Regions from separate parts of the Homo sapiens genome. Here region 2 is linked to region 1. Evidence: promoter capture Hi-C in human tissues and cell types (Jung and others, 2019). All regions are on one chromosome and are shown on one strand. Each heading gives the region's core, a stretch centred on a gene start or on the middle of the fragment in contact. The rest is flanking DNA. Distances are from core to core; before and after follow the strand shown. Region 1 holds the start of ALPL (alkaline phosphatase, biomineralization associated). Region 2 has its middle 64 kb from the start of NBPF3.

Region 1 (2,761 bases), core at 213-2,712:
AGTTAAAGAAAGAAAAAGGTGACACAGGAACAAGATGCATGGGGCCAGGGAGTGGGATGGCTGGGGCAGGACAGCGTGGGGACACCCACAGGTGGGGAGGACTAAACAGTTGGAAAGAGCAAGACTGGAGAGTGGAGGAAGAGCGGGCTGAGCCCAGGAGGAGCCGGAAGACAAAACCAAGGCTCAGCCCCCTATCTCTTAGGCAACACAGTGGGAGCAGGACGCTAGGGCTGCAGAGTTTGGAGTCTGGATTCAAACCCTGGTCCCACCACTTACTTAAATTGTCTAAGCCTCAGTTTCCCCATTTGTAAAATGAAATGATGTACATGAGATGTCAGAGCAGGTCCCTCTACGCACGGTAGGCCTTCAAAAAACAGTTGCAGTATCTACACTGAGGCTGGGACCCAACCCCTGCCTCCCTGGGCAGCTGGGCCCACCTGAGCGGTCTGACTTTTTCCCAGGGCCCAAAGCCCTTCCTGGCCCAAGAATCGCCCCCTCTTTTGATCTCAAGGAATTTCACCCTCCACCCAGAGGCCTTTGTAAAGGCCCCGCCTTCGACCCCATTATGTGTTGAAAAAGAGTCATAAGGCACAATGGGGAGTGGGGGAGGCTTTCCTCGGCCTCCTGCCTTTCTGCTGAGACCTGCGTTTAACCCTTTCTTACCAAGACTGGGCAGGGAAGCAGCCCTGGGAGGCCCACCTCGCAAAGCCTAAAGGGGGCGGCAGGCTCCTTCGGCTTCGCGGGCTCCAGAGCTTTGCCCCACAGCTGCGGTGCCCACAGTGGGTGCCCACACTTTGACACCCACGCGGGTGTCCTCTGTCTCCTCCCGCCACGCCCCCCATTCCAAGCGCCTCCTGCCCTCTCCTCCTCCCAAACCAAACTGCTTTAGACCCCACCGGGTCAGGTGGGACGCCTGGGAGGGCGCCAGGCCACGAGGCCTTGGGGTTGGCAGCCCAGGTCTCTAGAGCTACGGCTAAGGAGGCACCAGGAGGGGCTCAGTCACGGGGCACCAAGGGCAGGTGCCCAGACAGAGCGCAGGGTCCCAGGCAGCGGCTCGGGAGGTAGGAGACCCTGGGACTGCAGGGCGGTCCCGAGCGCGGTCCCCTGAGTTCGCCGGCTCCGCGGGCGCCACGTCCAATCTCCTGTCCCGCCCAGAGCGCGCGCCGGGAGCTTGGGATGCGCGGGAGGACAGGGGCAGGACCAATTGCAGGGCGTCCCGAATGGGCTGCTGTGGGCGGCGTGGCGCTGGAGACCCCGGCCCTGCCATTAAAGTTCAACCACGGGGCCAGCGGAGGATGCAGAAGGGGATGGACCACGTCCGCTGGGGCCCTGGGGAACCAGGGCGCGGGGCAGCGTCGAATCCTTACCTGCGCAGAGCACTGGCGAGGGTCCGTCCAGGCACAAGCGCGTGGGAGCACGGAGCCAGGATAGCGGGCGCGGAGTGGCGGGAGCGCAACGCGGCCCGGGCCACCACCCCCGCCGCCTTATAAAGGCGGCCGCGGGGCCCGAGTGAGGCCCGGGCAGCCCGCCCCCTCCCCCGCCCCCGGCCCCAACCCCTCCCCAGCCCGGCCCCGGCCCCGCCCCCGGCCCGAGCCCCGCGCCCCGCGGGCCGGTCGTGCCACGAGGCCAGGGCGCCCCCTGCCGGGAGCGGAGCTAGGAACGGGCTGGGGTGACGCGGCCCTGGCGTCCCTCGCCCGCCCCGCACTCTCGGTCTCTCTGCCTCCGGGCTGCCCCAGCCCAGCCCTTCCTCTCTCAGCGAGCCTGGGCTCTGACCTGCTCCTTGCGCGCGTCTCCTGTTTTGTCTTTACCGTCGGCATCTTCCTTCTGCGTCTCTTGGTGGGAGTCTTTGTCTCCACCCGTCTCTTTGTCTGCCTTCCTCTCTGGCGTCTGTCTCTGTGTCTGTCAACATATCTGGCTTTCTCTGGGTCTCTGTCTTTATCCGTCTCTGCCCACGTGTCCCTGTCTCTCTGTCTCTGTCCACGTGCACCTCTGACTCTGCACCCCCACCCCCGCTTCCCTGCCCGTGGGCTGCCTCCCTGGCTACCGCAAGAAGAAGCAGAAGGGGACCTCGGAGGGGTGGCATCTGGAGGGAAACCACCCCCTAGACAGGGGCCCTTCCCTCTTTCTCTCTTTAGAGACGTAAAGGGCCCGCAGGTGTCCGGCTATGTCCCAGCCAGAGCCCCAGGACATGCTCCCTGGATGCCAGAGGAGGGGCAGGCACTTCCCAGGCAGTTGAGTCAGACAGCTCAAGTTCAAAACTCTGCTCTGGTGACCTTGGCCAAGTCACTTGACCTATGTGGACCAGCCTGCCCCTCTTTAACAGGCAGACACCATCTCCCCTGGCCTCTCGCTGGTGCGAGAGTCATATGAGACAGTGCTTGAAAACTACAGAGGAAACGCTAAAATCCCGGATAGACGGGAGCCAGGGACAGAGGCTGGGTGCTACAGGCCCTGCTCCCGCTCCTGGGGAACCAGCTCTGATGGAATAACCACTCCCTTTCCTCTGAGCACTGAATTCTCTGGGCAACTTCGCAGTGAGAAGTCCGCAGGCTCTGTTTGAATGCCTCCAGCGACAGAGCTCACTGACTCCTAACAGGAGGGTCTTCTCAGTGGCCCTTGGGAAAATGTCTGCCCAGAGAACCAATTTTAGCCAGGTCAGGCAACCTCTCTTCCACTCACTCCATGCCAGTCTCAGGGCCAGGCACTGTGCATGCATTAACTTCCAAAAGCTCCATTTTCCAGAGGAGAAAACTGAGGCCCA
Region 2 (2,796 bases), core at 44-2,543, 130 kb after region 1:
TGGCTGGGGAGGCCTCAGAATCATGGCGGGAGGTGAAGGGCACTTCTTACATGGTGGCAGCAAGAGAAAATGAGAAGGATGAAAAGCAGAAACCCCTGATAAACCCATCGGATCTCATGAGACTTATTCACTACCACAAGAACAGTATGGGGGAAACTGCCCCCATGATTCAAATGATCTCCCACCAGGTACCTCCCACAACATGTGGGAATTGTGGGAGTACAATTCAAGAGGAGATTTGGGTGGGGACACAGAGCCAAACAATATCATTCTGCCTCTAGCCCTTCTAAGTCTCATGTCCTCACATTTCAAAACCAATCATCCCCTCCCAACAGTCCCCCAAAGTCTTAACTCATTTCAGCATTAATCCAAGAGTCCACAGTCCAAAGTCTCATCTGAGACAAGGCAGATCCCTTCTGTCTATGAGCCTGAATAATCAAAAGCAAGCTAGTTGCTTCCTAAGATACAACGGGGGTACAGGTATTGGGTAAATACAGCTGTTCCAAAGGGGAGAAATTGGTCAAAACAAAGGGGTTTCAGGGCCCATGCAAGTCTAAAATCCAGCAGGGCAGTCAAATTTTAAAGATCCAAAATGATCTCCTTTGACTCCATGTCTCACATCCAGTTCACACTGATGCAAGAGGCAGGTTCCCATAGTCTTGGGCAGTTCTGCCCCTGCAGCTTTGCAGGGTATAGTCCCCTTCTGGCTGCTTTCATGGGCTGACATTGAGTGTCTGTGGCTTTTCCAGGCAAATGGTACAAGCTGTTGGTGGATCTACCATTCTGGGGTCTGAAGGACAATGGTCCTCTTCTCACAGTTCCATTAGGCGGTGCCCCAGTAGGGACTCTGTGTGGGGGTTATGACCCCACATTTCCCCTCTGCACTGCCCTAGCAAAGGGTTCTCCATGAGGGCCCTACCCCTGCAGCAAACTTTGGCCTGGACATCCAGGTGTTTTGATACACCTTCTGAAACCTAGGCAGAGGTTCCTAAACCCCAATTCTTGACTTCTGTGCGTCCTCAGGCTCAACACCACGTGGAAGCCACCAAGGTTTGGGGCTTGCACCCTCAGAAACCATGGGCCGAGCTGTACTTTGGCCCCCTTCAGCAACAGCTGGAGTGGCTGGGACACAAGGCACCAAGTCCCTAGGTTGCACACAGCATGGGGACCCTGGGCCCAGCCTATGAAACCATTTTTTCTTCCTATGCTTCCAGGTCTGTGATGGGAGGGACTGCCATGAAGACCTATGACATGCCCTGGAGACATTTTCCCCATTGTCTTGGTGATTAACATTCGGCTCCTTGTTACTTATTCAAATTTCTACAGCCAGCTTGAATTTCTCCTCAAAAAATTGATTTTTCTTTTCTACCACATTGTCAGGCTGCAAATTTTCCAAACTTTTATGGTTTCTCTTTTAAAATGATTCTCCTGCCTCAGCCTCCCGACTGGCTGGAATTACAGGTGCATGCCACCACACCCAGCTAATTTTTGTGTTTTTAGTAGAAATGGGGTTTCACCATGTTGGCCAGGCTGGTCTCGAACTCCTGACCTCAGGTGATCCGCCCACCTCGGCATCCCAAAGTGCTAGGATTACAGGCATGAGCCACTGTGCCCGGCCTAGTTTTTATATTAATAGGTAGGCCTTTTATCTGGTAATTATTCTATCGGTTTTTCTTTGTAGGTGACTATATAATCTGCAAGTAATCACAGTTTTCCCTCTTATTTTTCAATCCTCACACTTTTCCGTTTCTCTGAAATGTCAGCAAGAACTCTAGGACTGCAGGGAGCGGTGGCTTACACCTGTAATCCCAGCATTTTGGGAGGCCGAGGTGGGTGGATCACTTGAGGTCAGGAGTTCGAGACCATCCTGGCCAACATGACGAAACCCCATCTCTACTAAAAATACAAAAATTAGCTGGATGCGGTGGCAGACACCTGTAATCCCAGCTACTCAAGAGGCTGAGGCAGGAGAATCACTTGAACCTGGGAAGAGGAGGTTGCAGTGAGCCAAGATCGCGTCACTGTACTCCAGACTGGGAAAAAGAGCAAGACTCCATCTCAAAAAAAAAAAAAAAAAGAAAAAGAAAGAACTCTAGGGCTAAGTTAAGTAGTATCCGTGATTTCAGGCATCCTTGAGTTGTTTCCAATCTTGGAGGTACTTAAAGCTTGTCCTATAAGACTATATTTGGGAGGCTGAGGCCGGCGGATCACCTGATGTCAGGAGTTCGAGACCAGCCTGACCAATATGGTGAAATCCCATCTCTGCTAAAAACAATACAAAAATTAGCCGAGCATGGTGATGGGTGCCTGTTGTCCCAGCTACTTGGGAGGCTGAGACAGAATTGCTTGAACTCGGGAGGCAGGAGGCAGAGGTTGCAGTGAGCTGAGATCACATCACTCTAGCCTGAGCAACAGAGTGAGACTTCATCTCAAAAAAATATATATATACACATATGTGTGTGTGTGTATATATATATATATATATATATGTATGTATATACACACATATGTGTATATATATATGTATACACATATGTGTATATATACATATATATGTATATATACACATATGTGTATATATACATATATATATATGTATATATACACATATATATATTTCGGCTAGGTGTGGTGGCTCATGCCTATAATCCCAACACTTTGGGAGGCCAAGTGGGGAGGATTGCTTGAGGCCAGGAGTTTGAGACCAGCCTGGGCAACATAGTGAGACCCTGTTTCTACATAAAGTAAATTTTAAAAATAGCTGGGTGTGGTGGTGCACACCTGTAGTCCCAGCTA

What was found. Contacts are between HindIII fragments. The study calls those that stand out against the background at their distance.
Region 2: a fragment that was not itself captured here is called in contact with the fragment with the promoter of ALPL in region 1 in 1 of the 25 tissues and cell types used here (mesenchymal stem cells).

The regions. Positions count from the first base shown.
Region 1 is chr1:21,508,124-21,510,884 of GRCh38, reverse strand. It overlaps ALPL (alkaline phosphatase, biomineralization associated), which reads right to left and starts at 1,462. Exons shown (of 12, transcript NM_000478.6): 1 at 1,368-1,462. RefSeq lists enhancers at 379-948, 949-1,519 and a silencer at 1,555-1,654. The HindIII fragment of the contact is 25,718 bases long and covers 1-2,761 here.
Region 2 is chr1:21,374,347-21,377,142 of GRCh38, reverse strand. No RefSeq gene overlaps it. Among named protein-coding and RNA genes, the nearest start is that of NBPF3, 64 kb to the left of the region's middle. The HindIII fragment of the contact is 4,268 bases long and covers 1-2,796 here.